Regions from separate parts of the Homo sapiens genome. Here regions 1, 2, 3, 4, 6 and 7 are each linked to region 5. The links are contacts of gene promoters, found by promoter capture Hi-C in human tissues and cell types (Jung and others, 2019). All regions are on one chromosome and are shown on one strand. Each heading gives the region's core, a stretch centred on a gene start or on the middle of the fragment in contact. The rest is flanking DNA. Distances are from core to core; before and after follow the strand shown.

Evidence for each region. Contacts are between HindIII fragments. The study calls those that stand out against the background at their distance.
Region 1: a fragment that was not itself captured here is called in contact with the fragment with the promoter of UTRN in region 5 in 2 of the 25 tissues and cell types used here (spleen and thymus).
Region 2: a fragment that was not itself captured here is called in contact with the fragment with the promoter of UTRN in region 5 in 2 of the 25 tissues and cell types used here (spleen and thymus).
Region 3: a fragment that was not itself captured here is called in contact with the fragment with the promoter of UTRN in region 5 in 8 of the 25 tissues and cell types used here (bladder, dorsolateral prefrontal cortex, heart right ventricle and 5 more).
Region 4: a fragment that was not itself captured here is called in contact with the fragment with the promoter of UTRN in region 5 in 1 of the 25 tissues and cell types used here (spleen).
Region 6: a contact is called between a fragment that was not itself captured here and the fragment with the promoter of UTRN in region 5, in 2 of the 25 tissues and cell types used here (spleen and thymus).
Region 7: a fragment that was not itself captured here is called in contact with the fragment with the promoter of UTRN in region 5 in 2 of the 25 tissues and cell types used here (mesenchymal stem cells and spleen).

Annotation. Positions count from the first base shown.
Region 1 is chr6:144,071,606-144,074,305 of GRCh38, forward strand. No RefSeq gene overlaps it. Among named protein-coding and RNA genes, the nearest start is that of SF3B5, 23 kb to the right of the region's middle. The HindIII fragment of the contact is 3,452 bases long and covers 1-2,700 here.
Region 2 is chr6:144,530,633-144,533,332 of GRCh38, forward strand. It overlaps UTRN (utrophin), which reads left to right. Exons shown (of 75, transcript NM_007124.3): 42 at 420-570; 43 at 2,453-2,628. Among named protein-coding and RNA genes, the nearest start is that of SNORA98, 130 kb to the left of the region's middle. The HindIII fragment of the contact is 6,702 bases long and covers 1-2,700 here.
Region 3 is chr6:144,507,851-144,510,550 of GRCh38, forward strand. The region is part of intron 34 of UTRN (utrophin); the gene reads left to right. Among named protein-coding and RNA genes, the nearest start is that of SNORA98, 100 kb to the left of the region's middle. The HindIII fragment of the contact is 4,170 bases long and covers 1-2,700 here.
Region 4 is chr6:144,048,800-144,051,499 of GRCh38, forward strand. It overlaps a transcript of PLAGL1 not described here. Among named protein-coding and RNA genes, the nearest start is that of PLAGL1, 42 kb to the left of the region's middle. The HindIII fragment of the contact is 4,345 bases long and covers 1-2,700 here.
Region 5 is chr6:144,283,932-144,286,631 of GRCh38, forward strand. It overlaps UTRN (utrophin), which reads left to right and starts at 1,404. Exons shown (of 75, transcript NM_007124.3): 1 at 1,404-1,890. LOC124901418 reads left to right here and starts at 2,567. Exons shown (of 1, transcript XM_047419641.1): 1 at 2,567-2,700. RefSeq lists an enhancer at 774-843 and silencers at 974-1,033, 1,244-1,343. The HindIII fragment of the contact is 2,482 bases long and covers 1,121-2,700 here.
Region 6 is chr6:144,449,669-144,452,368 of GRCh38, forward strand. It overlaps UTRN (utrophin), which reads left to right. Exons shown (of 75, transcript NM_007124.3): 18 at 1,702-1,825. Among named protein-coding and RNA genes, the nearest start is that of SNORA98, 45 kb to the left of the region's middle. The HindIII fragment of the contact is 5,884 bases long and covers 1-2,700 here.
Region 7 is chr6:144,467,654-144,470,353 of GRCh38, forward strand. The region is part of intron 23 of UTRN (utrophin); the gene reads left to right. Among named protein-coding and RNA genes, the nearest start is that of SNORA98, 63 kb to the left of the region's middle. RefSeq lists an enhancer at 1,979-2,655. The HindIII fragment of the contact is 4,554 bases long and covers 1-2,700 here.

The sequences.
Region 1 (2,700 bases), core at 126-2,625, 210 kb before region 5:
TTTCTGTCTATGCATTTGCTTGGGGAAGGAGGACAGGGTTCTAAGTAGCCCCAAGGAAATAGCTAATAACCCTAAGCAGAGGCAAAGCAATTATCAAGAAATTAAAGGAAATCCTACATGAAATTATCTGTCCATTCAAAGCTGTTATCTCTGCATTGAGGAAATAATGCCAGCCCTAGCAGAAAGTAATTCCTCCGTTTGCTTCAGTGATTCTGTATCTCCTGGCTCTCCTAACACTCAAAATATTTCTTTATCGTCATTCTTTCCTCTTTTCTTTTCTTAAATGTGGGGGTCTTCCAATATTTTAGCTTGAAACATTTCCCTTTATCTTCGCTCATTCTCCTTTCCACTTATGTTCTTGGGAAGCACATAATAAATCACTTCTAGGCATACAGATTCCAAATCGCTAGCCCTGAAAGATCCCCAGTCACAAGATACCTGTTTTTTGTTTTTTTTTTTTTTTTTTTACTGCCTGCTGAACATCTTGCCCTGCAGTGCGCACCAGACTTTCTCACTCAACATTCCAAACTGAACTCAGCATCTTATCACTATAACTAGTTTCTTATTTCAATTTTCATAATTCTAGCAGCACTGCCATTCTCCCAGATGCCTACATTTGAAAACTAACTTTGTGCCTCTGTTTCTTCTCTGTCCTTCCCTCCCCGTATTGTATGTCCCAAATCTATCAAAAGTGCACTTAGAGTAAGCTTGGCATGTGTATTCTTATGATACCTATCTTATTCTCTTGGGAATTACACAGATGTGACCGTTTTAAGGAAAATCCATAAAAAGAAATGAAATTTAAATAGTAGTATTTAGATACTTAAGTTAGTATCAATGATATTATTCATTCTACAAAAAAGTACTTTTGTATAACCTCTTGACAAGTACGAGATGTAAAATTCAACTTCTACCTCTAATAATTTAATTTTTACAGGCTAAAATTACATGCAGTTATCTTTTTGCCTACTAGAAGAAAATAGTAACATTTTTAAACTATATATCTGTCATTTGTCCAAGTAATTTTATTTTCATGTGAAAAGTTTAAGCATACAAAGAAGAGAAAGTAGTAAAATGAACTCTCATATGACCATTGCTCAATTCAATAAATACCAATATTTTGCCATGTGTGCCTAATATATTTTTTCTTTTCTTTTGTTAAAGTATTTAAAGCAAAACCCAGACATCAGCTTATTTCATTCCTGTTTACTTTCTTATGCTATTATAATAGTGGTATATAATAGAAGCATATAAGCATATCCATACTAGCACATAAAGCATATAATAGTGTTATAATGTGATCATAACACTAGCAAAATTGATGGTCATAGCTTGGTGTTGTATAAAACCCATACTGTATTCAAATTTTCTCTATTGTCTCAAAAATGTGTTCTTACAACTGTTTTTTTTGGGGAGGGAGGGGTATTGTTTTGTTTTATTTTAATCAGGGACCACACAAGTTCTACCCAATGCATTTTGTTGTTATTGCTCATAACTCCTTTTTAGTCTTTTTATTTTCCATGCCATTAACTTGTGGAAGAAACCAGATCCATAATATTCAAACATCCCACATTCTGCATTTGTCTGTTTACTTCCTTGTGGTACAGTTTAACAACTTGTTCCTCTATTCTCATCGTTTCTGTAAACCGATGCCACTGTTTTGTTTTTTGCATTTTGTATATTTTTCCCACTGCGTGTGAGTCACTCAAAAAAATACATCTTTCAGTGATGCCTTTTTTCCTGGATTCATCTCAGTTGGGTTTTAATCTTTCAATAGATACCAATTATGATGAATTAGTCATATTCTAATGATTTCCCTAAGAATAGATTGATGCATTAATAAGGGATCTGACAACACATAAACATGGGTTGAATAAAAGAAAATTATTTTAGAAAAATTCAGGAAATGATTATAATTGTTTTATATAGCTAAGTTCTTTGATTCAGTATGCGGTACTGTAAGAACATTCTCTGCGGTATTATGAGATATATATAAATATATATATTGGTTTTTGTCCACTGTTCCTGGTTCATACCTCCCATAAGCCCTTGCTACAGTCTTTGTTCTAATGTTGGGTGTATTTGGCCTCAGGGATAGGCCTCTGCCTTTCTCCTGCCTTCCTTTCACTCTCCTGTTTCCCCGCCTGTCTGATAGTGGGTGGGTCTTAAAACCCTCCCAGGAGAGGGTCTCACTCTACACCCTGGGGTAAGGAAAGCTGATGTTTTGAAGCTTTCATAAAAAACCCAAGAGGACGGGTTCAGAGAGCTTCCAGGTAGCTGAACACACTGAGGTGCCTGCAGGTTGGCCTCCAGGGAGGGCATGGACGCTCCACGTCCCTTCCCCATACGTCACCCTACATGCCTCTTCATCTATATTCTTTGCAGTATCCTTTATAATAAACTGGTAAGTGTAAATAAGTGTTTTCCTGAGTTCTGTGAGTGGCTCCAGCAAATTAATTGAACCCAAAGAAAGGGTCATGGAACTTGCGACTGATGTGTGTGTAAGGGGAGGCAATCTTGGGACTCAGCCCTCAGCCTGTGGGATCTGACACTGTCTTAGGGTAAATGGTGTCAGAACTGGATTGGAGGACACCCAGGTTGTGTCTATTACTTGGTGTGTGGGAAAAAAAAAAAAAAAAACCCACACATTTGATCACAGAGTCTTCTGTGTTGACTGTTGTGTAAGAGTAGAGGAAAAAT
Region 2 (2,700 bases), core at 52-2,551, 250 kb after region 5:
ATAAAGTTGGATGCGTTAACATGCCTACAACTAATCGATCCTGATTTTTCAAGCCAGAAAAGGCTGCATCTTTTTAGTTAAAAAGCTGCTCGAGTGTGTGTGTGAGTGTGTTTGTGAGTGTGTATGTGAGTGTGCATGTGTGTATACGTGAGTGTGCATGTGTGTGTGTATGAGAGAGAGGATTTGGTAGCTGGTGGTGTGAGCAGATTGCTTTGCCCTTGTTATGATGCATATATCTCTAGGAGGAATTATTACCTGTATCCCACTACGAAAATTGGTTTTGTGGAGCAATAGGCTGTGAATTCAGTTGTTTGAGGTCTTTCTGTTTAAATGAAATTTGATTTTCTTTTTTAGAAAAATGGCTTTAGGCAGTCCTGGAAAATTTGGAAACCTATTTTATTTTGTGTATTGTCCTCTAGTTGTTTTGACAGGGCAATGGAAGAATGGAGACAGTTCCATTGTGACCTTAATGACCTCACACAGTGGATAACAGAGGCTGAAGAATTACTGGTTGATACCTGTGCTCCAGGTGGCAGCCTGGACTTAGAGAAAGCCAGGATACATCAGCAGGTGAGTGCTTTCTGTTAGAGGAGGGGGACTGCACATATGGTTAGTGTATGCCTGTTAAGACAGATTTCAGAAGTAGGGACAAAATATATTAATTTTTCAGAAGTCAATGGACAATTTGTAATTTTTGTTCCAATTCTTGTTACCAGTTATAAAAGTTTAAGAAATTGGTCAATCACAATTTTCAATCAGGATTTCAAAGAAATTTAAATAAAAATACTCCTTGGTGGCTAATGTGAAAAACAATTTTATTTAAACAATTTTATATTTAGAATAAAATTTGTAAACTGTTATGCCTAAGACTATACCAAGAACAGAAAAAATATTTGCATGCCTCACCTCTGTTTTTTGTACTTAAACACTTAGGCATCTCATTTTTCTTTGTATCATTGATAATTATCATAAAGTAAATTATTCTGGAGCGACAGCAGGGCAGCTGCTCATGTAAGTCTAATTCAGTCTTGGGAAAATATAACACAAAGTTAGTTCTGATAACAATAGGTCTTTAAAAATAATGGTAGAAAGCACACGCAATTTCAATTCTACCATTGATAAAAATATTTTCTCTTTTATTAAGTTTTTTAAATGTATTTTATTTAGAAGGACATGACAATTTAAAGATAATTCATTTGTTTTTCTTATAAATGTGTTAATGTGGCCGGGCGCGGTGCCTCACACTTGTAATCCCAGCATTTTGGGAGGCTGAGGTGGGCGGATTATGAGGTCAGGAGATCGAGACCATCCTGGCTAACATGGTGAAAACCCATCTCTACTAAAAATACAAAAAATTAGCCGGGCATGGTGGAACGCACCTGCAGTCCCAGCTACTCAGGAGGCTGAGGCAGGAGAATTGCTTGAACCTGGGAGGCAGAGGTTGCAGTGAGCCAAGATCGTGCCACTGCACTCCAGCCTGGGTGACAGAGCAATACTGTGTCAATAAATAAATAAATAAATAAATAAATGTGTTAATGCATTTTTCTTATTTTTGGAGTTACAGATAAGTGTTTAAATTTGACTTGAAAATATTCATTCAATCTGTTACTTAAACATTTGTAGACCAGTGTATTAGTCTGTTCTCATGCTGCTAATAAAGACATACCTGAGACTGGGTAATTTATAAAGGAAAGAGGTTTAATTGACTCATAGTTCAGCATGGCTGAGGAGGCCACAGGAAACGTCCAGTCATGGTGGAAGGGGAAAGAAACATGTCCTTCTTCATATGGCGGCAGGAGAGAGAAGTGCTGAGCAAAGTGGGGGAAAAGTCCCTTATAAAACCATCAGATCACTCTCACTAGAACAACACGAGGGTAACCACCCCTGTGATTCAGTTACCTCCCACTGGGTCCCTCCCTTGGCATGTGGGGATTATGGGAGGTACAATTCAAGATGAGATTTGGGTGGGGACACAACCAAACCATATCAACCAGTGAAGCAATATCTTAGTAAAATGTGCATTTAGGTTTACTTGTATGTGGTAGGACACAAGGATATAAGGATTTATTGGGGTATATAATTTTTTAAAGCAATGCCTTCAAGCACTTGCTTGAAAGAAGATGAGCAATTCATTTTCATCAAACATGATTGATGCTTATGCTTTAATGTAAACAGCTGTTATTCATTTTAGTTATTAAGCTGCCCTATTTCCTTGTATTTTGCCTGATGACATTCATGAAGGTGGGTTAGATTTCAAAATAAATTTCATTTAGCATGTTCATTGAAATGTAATTAAATTGTTTTAAAATGCCTTTTTTTTCTAACATAAAATATCTTTCCAGGAGTTTGTTTCTTTCACACTTAAATTGATACCACAATACTTGGGTGGATTCATTGCATCAGAATCATTTACTTATTAGTGAAACTAATCTTGAGTTGTGCTCTGTTACAGGAACTTGAGGTGGGCATCAGCAGCCACCAGCCCAGTTTTGCAGCACTAAACCGAACTGGGGATGGGATTGTGCAGAAACTCTCCCAGGCAGATGGAAGCTTCTTGAAAGAAAAACTGGCAGGTTTAAACCAACGCTGGGATGCAATTGTTGCAGAAGTGAAGGATAGGCAGCCAAGGTGATTTAGCTATGATTGTTTGCAGGCACAGGAGTGAACATATTTTGGATAGAATCTTTTAAGATGCAATCT
Region 3 (2,700 bases), core at 64-2,563, 220 kb after region 5:
AAGCTTTGCTCACAGCTGCCCTTTCCCCCAGGTGCTCTGTCCCAGGCAGATGGGAGTTTTCTCTATAAGCCCCTTGCTGGGGCTGCCACCCTTCTTTCAGAGATCAGACAGTCTGGCTACAGTTGCTTTTCTGAGCTGTGGTGGGTTCTGCCCAGTTTGAACTTCCTGGAGGCTTTGTTTACACTGTGAGGGGAAAACTGCCTACTCAAGCCTCAGTAATGGTGGATGCCCCTCTCACCACCAAGCTCCAGCATTCCAGGTCGACTTCAGACTGCTGTCCTGGCAGCGAGAATTTCCAGCCGTTGGATCTTAGCTTGCCGGGCTCCATGGGGATGGGATCTGCTGAGCTAGACCACTTGGCTCCCTGGCTTCAGTCCCCTTTCCAGGGGAGTGAATGGTTCTGTCTTGCTGGTGTTCCAGGCACCACTGGGGTGTGAAAAAAAACAAACAAACAACTCCTGCAGCTAGCTTGGTGTCTCCCCAATCGGCTGCCCAGTTTAGTGCTTGAAACCCAGGGCCCTGGTGATGTAGGCACCTGAGGGAATCTCCGGGTCTGTAGGTTGTGAAGGCCTTGAGAAAAGTGTAGTATCTTGGCTGGATAGCACCGTACCTCACGGCACAGTCCCTCATGGCTTCCCTTGGCTAGGGGAGGGAGTTCCCCAACCTCTTGCGCTTCCCTGGTGAAGCGACACCCTCCGTGGGCTGCACCCACTGTCTAACCAGTTCCAGTGAGATGAACCAAGTACCTCTGTTGGAAATGCAGAAATCACCTGCATTCTGTTTTGGTCTTGCTGGGAGCTGCAGACTGGAGCTGTTCCTGTTTGGCCATCTTGCCAGCCACCTCCTCTGCTAGCTCTTTTATAGTTTCATCTTTTTACCTTTAATGCATTAATCTTTCCAGTATTTATTTTGGTGTATTTCGTGAGGTAAGGCTCTAACCTTCTTTCCAAAAGGATAACCAATTATCTTAGTGCTATTGGTTGAGTAATTAACCTTGTCCCCATGGATTTGACATGCTAAGTTCATATATTCTTATTTTCCTGTTGCCTTTCGTTGTTTTCTGCTCCACTGATCTGGCCCCATGAAATGTACCAGTTTTTAGAATGTTTAGCCATGTTTTATAGTATATTTTAACTGCAGTTAATGGGTTCCCTCTCTTTATGCTTCATTTTTGGTATATATCTTATATGAACTTTAGAATTTTTATTGTTAAATTCTTAAATTCTATTGGAAATTTTGATTTGAATTGCCTTGAATTCATACATTTGTGTAGTGCAGAATTGATATCTTTGTTATATTAATTCTATTCGGTAACATATATGTCTCATTTTTGTCCTAAATTCTTTCACATTCCTACATAATGTTTTGATTTTTTTCTTTATAAACATTATTCATATATGCACAGGAGTTTATTCCTACATATCTATTTTTATTGCTATGTAAAAATATACTTTTCGGTTTTTTTACAGAGTGCTTATTGTTGGTACATAGGTGATATTGATTTTATATATTCAATTTTTAAACATCCATGTTCATATACTCATAAATTCAATTTGTTTTTCAGCTGATTCTCATAGCTTTTTTAGGTAAAGACTCAAAGCAATGAAAAATTTGTTTCTTTTGGAACAATATGCTCTTAAGTTTCCATTTAATCTTATTTCAGAATTGAAATGATAAAGATGATATATACAAGTCACAAATTCACAGCACATTCTCTTCATTAGAGTAAATCAAATGAAACATCAGTATATATTAATAACCACCATCTTTTTATCACTGTCTTTTCAGATTTAAGGAACATGCAGATTTCACCACATTTTAATGTATTTGCACTTAAAGATTATGTAAAATTATTTTCAATGCAAAGCTTAAATAAATAATATTTTCATTTCTGAATACTGTTTTTATTCCATAACTTAAATATAACTATTTTCAATGTAATCTTTTTTACTGTAAAAAAGTATGTGTACTATTTAGATGTAATTACTTGTAGTTCATTATTTTTTATAGTTCTTAAATGCTATTCTAGTCAATCAGTACATGCCCACTGAAGAAATGAAAGATTCTTATTAATAATTGCTGAGAGCATAGCTATTGGGTATCCTTTATTTTCTCCCCCCTTGCTAGAGAATAATATTGGAAAGTAGTATTTCAGTTCTGTCATAAATATGCCAGTAATTGACATGGCCAAGTGAGTGTTTAAACCTGGACTCATTTGTGAATTTGTAATTGGTATGCTTTCCAAGGTGTGATTTAATGTAGAAATATAAACTTGAGCTCCTTAAAATGATTGGTTTAAATGTTGATTTAAAAAATGGTCAATAATAGTAGCAGTAGGGTAGATACATGCATATTGCTTTTTGATTGAAAGAGCTTTGTAGTTTTAATTGTGGAACTCATGCTCTCTCTATAATTCTGTGACTATATACTTTGCCTGGTGAAACTTACGAATGTGCCGATCACTTTATCATCATACCATCCAGAGTATTATCTTTGCACTTATGACAGTTGTAAGACCAAAGCTTAGACTTGCTGCTCTCTTGTGAGTTACTTACATGAAATGTTTTTTTGTAATGTTTATTCAGTATATTATATGTGAAATCACCCAGCTGTAAGATGTTATCCTTGCAAGTACCTATAGTACACATCGATAGTTTCCTCTGGTAATCTAGGAGATAAATTCATTGTGAATTTTTTTAA
Region 4 (2,700 bases), core at 171-2,670, 240 kb before region 5:
ATTACTCATGCAAATTTCTGCAGCTGGCTTGAATTCCTCCTTAAGAAAATAGGTTTTTCTTTTCTACTACAAGGTCGGGATGCATATTTTCCAAACTTCTATGCTCTGCTTCCCTTTTAAATCCAAATTCCAATTTCAAACCATCTCTTTGTGAATGCATAAGATTGAATGCTTTCAAAATCAACCAGGTCACCTCTTGAATGCTTTGCTGCTTAGAAATTTCTTTTGCCAGTTACCCTAAATAATCTCTCTCAAGTTCAAAGTTGCACAGATCTCTAGGGCAGGGGCAAAATGCCACCAGTCTCTTTGCTAAAGCATAGCAAATGTGACCTTTGCTCCAGTTCCCAAGACTTTCCTTATCTTCATCTGAGACCACCTCAGCCTGTACTTCATTGTCCACATCATTAACTGCATTTTGGTCAAAACCATTCAACAAGTCTCTAGAAAGTTCCAAACTTTCCCACAACTTCCTGTCCTCTTCTGGGCCCTCCAATCTGTTCCAACCTCTGCCTGTTACCCAGTTCCAAAGTTGCTTCCTCATTTTTAAGTATCTTTATAGCAATACCCCACTACCTTGGTATCAATTAACTGTGTTAGTCAGTTTTCACTTTGCTATAAAGAAATACCTCAGATGGGTAATTTATAAAGGAAAGAGATGTAATTGACTCACAGTTCTGCACGGCTAGGGAGGCATCAGGAAACTTACAATCATGGTGGAAAGCAAAGAGGAAGCAAGCTTGGACCTTCTCACATGGAAGCAGGGGAAGAGTGAGGAGTGAAGGGGAAAGAGCCTCTTATGAAACCATCAGATCTTGTGAGAACTCACTCACTATCATGAGAACAGCATGGGGAAAACTGGCCCCATGATCTAATTGCCTCCCACCAGGTCTCTCCCTAGACATGTAGGGATTATGGGGATTACAATTTCAAGATGAGATTTGGGTGGGGACACAAAGCCTAATTATGTCACTCTATTACTAGTCCCATTTTTCAAATAAAAAACTGAGACACATGGAGGTTTGATAACTGTGTGACATACTTAGAAGGTGGCTCCAAAGCCAAGGTTTTTATCCTTCGTGCTGCGTAGCTTCTGATCATGAGGGAGAGGATAAATTGAGTAAGCAGGGTCCAACAGTGCACAAGACAGGTCTGGACTAAGATCCTTCGAAGCTGGAGAAGTGGAGGGGAGGAAAGGTGCAGATGCGAAAAATGGCAGAAGGGGGAAAGGGTGAATGGGAGGGAAGCCATTCACAATTTAGAGCCTCGGCTTTTTGAATGAAGTAGGAGAGTAGTTATTTTTCATGAAAGCAAGTAAGGGTGCTTACTTTGAGTTTAACTCAAAATATTTATGTGTCTGGTGAGTTTTGAGGGAAATTGAGACCACCTAAGGGAACAAGAGATTCACATTGCCCAGAACGTACTCATTCCAGGACAATACACCCACTGTGTGACATGCTAGGGGCAACCTCCTGTGCTAATTATTGTTCTTTTATTTCCCCTTGAAATCGACTGCTGAACTCAACTAAGTGAAATATGTCCATAACACAATGCTGCCAGAAGGTCTTTGATACCAGCAACCAGGGCTTGCTCGGCTTTCCTGCCCAAATCCCTTCTCAGAGCATTTTTATCGCTCATATGTTATTCTCTTTTCTTCTGTCTGAGGAGAGAAAGATTCTTCTACACTCTTTTAAGGCTGTCTCTTCTCTATGTTTATGTCTCTATTATTACATTATAGGCTTATTCTAGGGAATAAATATCTTATTCCTGCCTTGCAAAGAATAAGCACATGATATTTATACACATCTCTGTGTCAGGTGCAGTGGCTCATGTCTATAATCCCAGCACTTTGGGAGGCCAAGGCAGGAGGATCACTTGAGGCCAGGAGTTTGAGACCAACCTGGGAAACATAGTGAGACCCTGTTTCTACAAAAAAAAATTTTTTTTTAAGTAAATCAGGTGTGGTGGCACATGCCTGTTGTCCCAGCTACTCAAGAGGCTGAGGTGGCAGGATCACTTGAGTCTGTGAGTTTCAGGCTGTAGTAAACTACAATTGTGCCACCACACTCCAACCTAGGTGACAAAGCAAGACCCTGTCTCAAAAACAAAACAAAGCCAAAAACCTTAGGGAACTGTATCTGTTACTCTTTTATTACCAATAATATCTTCAGGCAAAATCTGCTGACAAACATTTATAAATTAAATGTAAAAATAAAATCTTAAATCAGCTTTAAAATAAGTCAGTACATGATATGTAACAACTCTAAATCAGCTTTAACAGTTTGTAATATGTAACAACTTAAAATCTAGACACCTACAGACTATCAGATAATGTCTAGGAAATCACCTCAATTACGTACTTTCTCTAAGTTTTCTATATATCACACAATTAAATTACAATAAATTTCAGAAAACAATGAATCCACTCAATACAGGAAACCACAATAAGCAAAAGTGCAGGACACAGGGAAACCAATAACTGCAACATGTATGTGCTTAATGGAAAAAGATCCATTCAGGCATATATTTAGATGCCAAACAGCTTCTCCTAGCACTTTCCTCACACTAATTCTACTTTATTGCTTTGAATCCTTTTGGTAAACAACACCCACCATGCATGAGGCACACACATACAATCAAATAACAACTAAGGACAATCATTTACTCCTGTTTTTTTCACAAATGATATCTTATTGGATGCCC
Region 5 (2,700 bases), core at 154-2,653:
AATGAATGAATGAAGTGAATGAATAAAATCATACCCATTTCAAGTTAATCCTTTGGATTTTATTTGGCTTATACGTAGAAAATCATCAAAAGGAAGGAAACTGTCCTAGAAACCTTACAAGGAAGAGTCTCTTTTGGGAATCTCCTACCTGCCCCCTCCCTGGAGCACTTAGGGATGGATGGGGGAAACTTTCACTATAACAAAAGGCGAGTAAACTCTTTCTGAAAATTAGTTTAAGGCCCCTAGTGGTTTAATCTTTACTGCCGCGTAAATTAACTCAAATATTAAGCCAGCAATAAACCGGCGCTCCAGTATCAACCATCCTTTTCTCTGTTAATACGAACTAGGAACTCAGGTTGCTGTTTTCTTTCCCCTCCCACGTGTGCTGATCGTGTAAAAGAATCACAGGAACACACGAGCAATGAAATGTGTAAATAAGAAAAATGCACACACATCACGAGCTCATTTCTTCCCAGATATTTTTTGGTCAACCTCTCAAGCTTGGAACAGGCTCTATAACAGATGTGCGTTTGTGTGTGCATATTGGAAAACAGAAAAATAAGGTCAGCGCAAACACTACTTGTAATACAAACTAATGTAAGAGAAAACTTCTTTTTCAATATTAACAACGACACTAGAGAAATAATGTAAAATAAATATACGGTTGGAACTAGGGGTAAAAAAAAAATCAGCAACGTCAGCAAACTGAGATGGGGTGAGTTGGAAGGCAGATTGGAATTTATCTCTTAAAAAAATATCACCCTAACTAGAGACCTGTTTTGCCTAAGGGGACGTGACTCACATTTTCGGATAATCTGAATAAGGGGAATTGTGTCTGCTCGAGGCATCCATTCTGGTTCGGTCTCCGGACTCCCGGCTCCCGGCACGCACGGTTCACTCTGGAGCGCGCGCCCCAGGCCAGCCAAGCGCCGAGCCGGGCTGCTGCGGGCTGGGAGGGCGCGCAGGGCCGGCGCTGATTGACGGGGCGCGCAGTCAGGTGACTTGGGGCGCCAAGTTCCCGACGCGGTGGCCGCGGTGACCGCCGAGGCCCGGCAGACGCTGACCCGGGAACGTAGTGGGGCTGATCTTCCGGAACAAAGTTGCTGGGCCGGCGGCGGCGGGGCGAGAGCGCCGAGGGGGAGCCGGAGCGCTGCAGAGGCGCGGGCCGGAGGGCTGGCGCTGATCTGCACCCTTCTCATCTGGAGAGCGGACCCCTGGCTGCCCGGAGGCGAGCCCCTTCCCGGGGGGTGGGGGCGGCAACGCGCGACCCAGCGGTCCTGCGCCCCACCCTCCCTCCTCCGCCTCCAGCGCTCGGCTCCAACAAAGGGGCAGGCCCGCAGCGGGGAGGAGGAGGAGGAGCCGCCGAAGGAGCGAGCCTCTCTCGCGCACAAAGTTGTGGAGTCGTTTTTCCTCGGAGCAGGGAAGCGGGCAGCAGCAGCCGGCCGCGGGCTTTCTCCCGCCGAGGGGCGAGGAGGAGCCTCTGGCTCCAGAAGCCGATTGGGGAATCACGGGGAGCGGCGCCCCCCTTCTTTTGGGTCATTTCTGCAAACGGAAAACTCTGTAGCGTTTGGCAAAGTTGGTGCCTGCGCGCCCCTTCCAGGTTTGCGCTTTGACTGTTTTGTTTTTGGCGGAACTACCAGGCAGGAAGATTGCACAAGTAAGGGGCGTTTTCAGTCGGGTGTCAATTTCTCTTTCTTTCTTTCTTTTTTTAAAATTTCGGTTCGTGTCTGCTTCTCCAAGCTTTATTTTTTTTTTTAAATACATCGCACCACCAAACTAACACTCGCACACACCCCCGCGGTTACTCCGTGTCAAACTCCTAGAGGAGCCCTTGGCCAGCTCGGGGTGCGGCGGTGGCGACCGGCAGGCGAGGAGGCCCGCGGGCAGCAGGTAAGCCCATGCATTATTGAAGCCTCGGGCTGGTAATGTGACTACAGCCCCCGAGGGAATGGGGCGGGGGCCGGGAGGAGGATGGCTCTTTCTGTGGTTCTTCCGCCTGGGATCGGCGTCCCGAGCTGCTTCCCAAGTCCCAGAGTCGAAGATGGGAGTAACTTTTGCGTGCCCTTTCCTCGGGGCCTCAGTTTAGCTCCCCGCGGTGCGAGAGAGAATGCCGGAGGCGTGGAGAGCTCGGGCGTGGAGGTCCTTGGGATCCGTACTAGTTGTGAACGATCCAAACTTATCTGACCAGCTCTGTGCTGCCTCCCTGCTCCCCTAATCTTCCTCCCCGCCGGGGTGACAGAGTCGCCCTCCGTGCATCGCGCGGTGCAGGGCGCTGGGCCAGTGATTTGCAAGAGGGGACGTGGCCTCTTAGGAGAGTCTGTCACAGACACCCGGGCCCGGGGAAGGCGGGGCTCCGGCGGTGTCCACAGGAGAGGGTGGGCAGAGGGTGGCTGTGTGGTCGGCGGCCAGCGGAGCGCTTCCCAGCCAGCCGCCCGGCGGGGAACGTGCTTGACCTCTGGGTGGTTGCTGCTCCCAAGGGTGGGGCTCCGGAGAGTGTGGCGCGATCGCCAAGCTCCCTGGCAGCGGCCCTGGAGAGACTGAGGGGACAGGAGGAGGGGGGCGCCCCATTGGTGTGTAGTCCCGCGCAGTCGCCGGCTCTCCTTTTCCGGACTCTGGGGATCTCTTGCTGCAACTGACAAGGTAATTCATGCCCCGCTTTGGCCCGGGGTCCGAGGCTGTGGTTGCTCAAGGCCACTTAAA
Region 6 (2,700 bases), core at 148-2,647, 170 kb after region 5:
AAATCTACCTTGATGAAAAGATAAAATATTCATAGTTCACCAGAAACACTTTAAGCAAAGTTTCTCACAAGAATCAGCAATAACGACTTGTGCCACTGCTTAATGTATCGAGAAGCTCTGTGGGGAGGGTACTAGTTAAGAAGACAGTCTTGGTTTGAATCCCAGCCTCACCCTTTGTTAGCTTTGTGACATGGGACAGTTACTGAAAACCTCTGTGAGCTCAGTACCTTCATCTCTAAAGGGGATAATAATAGTGTATACTTTTTAGGGTGCTGGTGAGGATTCCTTGAGTTAATAATAGACATAAAACACTTAGAAAGGGGCCGGGTAGAAGGCCAGCAATCAGTGATCGTGACTCCTCTTGTTCCTCCTTGCTGTGGTTTTGACCAACCTTCTCAACACCTCTCAAACCTGTCCTTTCGTCTTCCTTCCCACTGTTACTATCTTAGTTGTGACTCCCGTTGCTTTCACAGCCTGTTCTCGACTCGTCTCTCTTTAATGCCTTCTCCTCAGTGAACACTAAAGGATAAATAGAATCATGTCAGTTCCATGCATAGAACTCTCCCTTGGCTCTCAACTGCCTTTGGGTTAAGTCCAAACTCCTTAATATGTCCTGCAGGGCCTTCTTGTAGCTGGTCCATGTGATTCTTGGCCACATCGTCAATTGTCCCTCCCTTGTGAGTTCAGTACTCATTATTCCAGACACGCCTAACTAATACTTGCAGTTTGCAAAATGTGATCTTCCCTTTCTCTGCTTTCCCTTGGCAAGGGAAACTCCTCAGTGTAATGCTGTTGTTCTCCTTTAGGAAGCCATCCATGCCCCAATTGGATTAGAAGCCACTCCTGTGAATTCCTGGAATTAGCACCTAGCAAATTCTTTTGTTATTGCCTGTTACTTTCCATTGCTTACTAGACTAGAAGCTCCTTGGGAGCTGAGATTTGTATCTGGTTCACTTTCATATCAAGAGCCCAGCCCAGTGCCTGACATTTAGTAAGGCTCAATCATTACATATTGAACAAAAGAAGATGTTAACTTTAGTAATGTCTGTACTTGTTCTTTGCTGATTATCTAACCAACTCTGGTTTTTATTATCTATAAGCATTTATAAAAATACAAGTGATTCCTTATAAAGGTGAAAATTGTTTTAATATGTAAAGTTTTAAAAATTTTTATTTAAGGCCAGGCATGGTGGGTCATGACTGTAATCACAGCACTTTGGGAGGCCAAGGCGGGCCGATCATGAGGTCAGCCTGGCCAACATGGTGAAACTCTGTCTCTACTAAAAATACAAAAATTAGCTGGGTGTGGTGGTGGGCACCTATAATCCTAGCTACTCGGGAGGCTGAGGCAGGAGAATCCTTTGAATCTGGAGGCGGAGGTTGCAGTGAGCCGAGATCGTGCCATTGCACTCAAGCCTGGGTGACAGGGCGAGACTCCATCTCGAAACAACAACAACAACAACAAATTATTTAATTATTTTCTTCAATTGTTTATTAACCCTATAATATTATTACTCTTTTCATACTTTTAGTTGTAAATATATGATCTCATTTTGCATGGTTACCCTATTTCTGGGTTGCTGTTTTTGGGGGAGTGATAAAAAGACATATTCCTGATGAGCATTTGAGTTGCTCTTTCTGGAGTCAAGTAAAACAGTAGAAGGAAACATGACAAATGGTCACCTCTGAATCTTCAAACAGGTTTGATGCTATAAGTGCAGAGCTGTTGAACTGGATTTTGAAATGGAAAACTGCCATTCAGACCACAGAGATAAAAGAGTATATGAAGATGCAAGACACTTCCGAAATGAAAAAGAAGTTGAAGGTAAAAAACATAAACCACATATATCCTAGTGCATAAAATAGTTCATCATGCTGGATTTTCTGCTGGCATAAAGACATTATGGAATTCAAAAGCCTCCTGTAAAATAAATGTAGGCAGAAGGTAGCTTTTAGTACATTGTAGTGAATTTTGAATCCATTCATGCTAGCTGTCATCAGATCCCTATTTGGAGGACGTTTTTTTTTTTTCATCTTTGTCAGTCACTGAGATGTACAGTGAGGAATACTTCTTATGGTGATCCAGTTAGTGGTACTACTTTTTAGTTAGTTTAGATCACCCTTAATCTGGTATCTAATAATTTATGACTCTATATTAACATTATGCTGAAGATGTTTTGCCTTCGGAATACAACAAACTATTTTAAATCAAAAAGTGTATTCAATATATTTTCTTTAGAGTTGTAAAAAATAAATACAATTAAAAGGTGTGGGATCTTAGCCCTGCCGCTTTCCATGCTTATGTGTGTTTCTGAAGAGTGTGATGGGAACTTGCAGAGCTTTTTTGTCCTGGGTGCTCATACGTCTCCTACACATTACTGCATTAACTATTTGGGCACCTGGGTAGAGAATCTATAGTCTAGTCTCCTGCCATCTTAAGAGGTAGCAAAAAATCAACTTGTAAAAAGTAGATAATTGCCTTTTTCTCCAGTTCGATGGTGACTTTTACATTGATCTTTAGTTAGACAAAATAAACGGTGTTTCTTAGAGTCTCTTACTAATATTCCTTGATCTTTGACTATAAGAAGGTTGTTCTACCTAGTCACAGTAAACTTTGTGAAAATCAAAGTAGGATAGCTGAATTTATTTGATAGCACTTACATGTAAACAATTTAGAATTGGGATTCTTCTCTGGATTGT
Region 7 (2,700 bases), core at 144-2,643, 180 kb after region 5:
TTTGAGAGTACTTTGGAAAGCATTTTAGGGTAAAAATGCAATACTTTCTAAGAGTAATATTAGTACGGATGATTTAACCCTTCTTAGGTAACATATAATTGATATAATTATCTCATAAGGGTTTGAGTTTTTTTTCTCATTTGTGAACACATTTTACTTTACTGAAGGGAATATTCATATATTCCCTTCCTTAGATTTAAGAACCTTATTAGTTTTTAATAAGTGTAGTAGCAGTGTCATTGTTTGTCTTCCCTACTAAGTGAGAGAGCACATTTTCAAGGTTGTGTTTTTGAGGTTATTGAGTATTATAAAGTGAAACAAAATAGGAACCTGGCTGCCTTAAATTACTGTTTTAATTCTGGCTTCACACTATTTTTTTTTTTTTCTGGTCTATGTCTTAAAAAGCTGTGGACATTCCGACAGATGGGGGAGGAGCAAAAGAAAATGCCAAGAATTTAGCTGTAATCAAGTCTCCAGAGGTAGTTGTGTACCTTGCAATCTTACTGTCTTAAATCCAGATTTACCAAGCTTTAAATTACCTCCATCCTTAGGTCACAGGATGGGGGATGGGAAATGAGGTGAGATAGGGTCAGAGGAATTGTTTTAATGACCTTGCTGTTCCTTGTCCGTGATCCCATAGCAGGTTGTTGCCCATCTGAAATGCTTAGAAATCATTGCTTTTGAGCAGTGATGGTCCATGTAGACTTTGACCCTTCCATACTAGAATATTTGATATTTTGATTTTCAAAAAATACTGTATTCGTAATTTTATATTCATTTGAATATTTGTGAGTAAAAATAGGTATGAGAAATGGCTGCCCCAGATTAGTACTTAGTTTATTTTTTTTTGCATGTGAAATAATGACATTTGCTTTAGAAATTTACTAACAGTTTTTATATTTCGTTTTGGTTTGTAAGAACTGAAGTCCCTTAAAGAAATGTGTGTGTGTGTGTGTGTGTGTGCATGCGTGTGTTCTGTAAGCAGATGGAGGTGAAGAAAAAAATCGTCATTATTGTAGATTAGAAGCTTGTAAGTGCATCAGCTGAGTAATTTTTAAATGGACAGAGAAACACTATTTTCATGTGAGCTCTTTGACGATCTTTGTAATCAACCTCTTTGTTGTGGTGGAATTGACTTAAAGATGAGCAGACTTTTGGTATGTTTGAAAAGCACAGGAAACATCTGCTACAGGTTGATTGTGACAATATTTTGCTCAGGGAAAGGGGAGATAAGATAGGGAGAGTGGAAGGCAGAGTAGAGCTCCCTGTCTTCTGCCTTCACCCATACAGGTACAGGTGGTAGGTAGCATTGATCTTTGGGACTTGATAACCCTTCCCGCGCGGTGTGCCACGAGGTGGAAACGCCGAGTGAATCTGCTGCTGCCAGGCACTTCTAAAGGATGGGCCTTTCCTTCTGTACCAATTCCTTCCCATGAGCTGTATTTGGCCAGGTCTAGCCAGATATATAAGCAGTAGCCATTTGAAACAGTTACTTTGAAACAGTTACAGGATAGAACAAGCATTAATGTTGGCAGCAATTAAAAAAGTGAAACCCATGCTTATGCAAACACATGCTCATCCTGGCTGTTCATTCCTGTGGTGCCTCTGATGGGACATAAACACCAAAACTTGGATGTGGTAACTCTTTTATGGTCTCAATCTTGGTCATAATAAAGCAGTTGGTTTTGTAGATCTTAGTATAATAATCGCTACCATTTAGTGCATTCTTCTATGTGGGAGTCTCTGTTTTTCAGAACAACCAGACAAGATAGTTGTTATGATTCCAGTTTCACAATGAGTTATTAAGGCTCAAAGAAAAATTAGTTTCTCAAGGCCCCATGGCTAGGCAGGTGCTGAGCTTGGTAGTCAGACCTCAGCATTTCTTTATATGGGCACACTGTCTCTTTTAGAGCACAGTGTGGTTAGAATTACATGCAGGATTTTTAGTAGTGAAAATATTATAGTGTGGCTTTACAGGTTCCCTTCTATTCCCTTTGTCACTTTTGGGATGATCCATTGGCCTACATGGCTTCTCTGTCTGTTTCTTTCCTTTTTTTTTTTAGTATTTATTGATCATTTTTGGGTGTTTCTCGGAGAGGGGGATTTGGCAGGGTCATAGGACAATAGTGGAGGGAAGGTCAGCAGATAAACATGTGAACAAAGGTCTCTGGTTTTCCTAGGCAGAGGGCCCTGCCGCCTTCCGCAGTGTTTGTGTCCCTGGGTACTTGAGATTAGGGAGTGGTGATGACTCTTAACGAGCATGCTGCCTTCAAGCATCTGTTTAACAAAGCACATCTTGCACCGCCCTTAATCCATTTAACCCTTAGTGGACACAGCACATGTTCCAGAGAGCACGGGGTTGGGGGCAAGGTTATAGACCAACAGCATCCCAAGGCAGAATAATTTTTCTTAGTACAGAACAAAATGGAGTCTCCTATGTCCACTTCCTTCCACACAAACACAGCAACAATCCGATCTCTCCTTCTTTTCCCCACACTTCCCCCCCTTCTATTCCACAAAACTGCCATCGTCATCATGGCCCGTTCTCAATGAGCTGTTGGGTACACCTCCCAGACGGGGTGGCGGCCGGGCAGAGGGGTTCCCCACTTCCCAGATGGGGTGGCCGGGCAGAGGCGCCCCCCACCTCCCAGACGGGGCGGCTGCCGGGCGGAGACGCTCCTCACTTCCCAGATGGGGTGG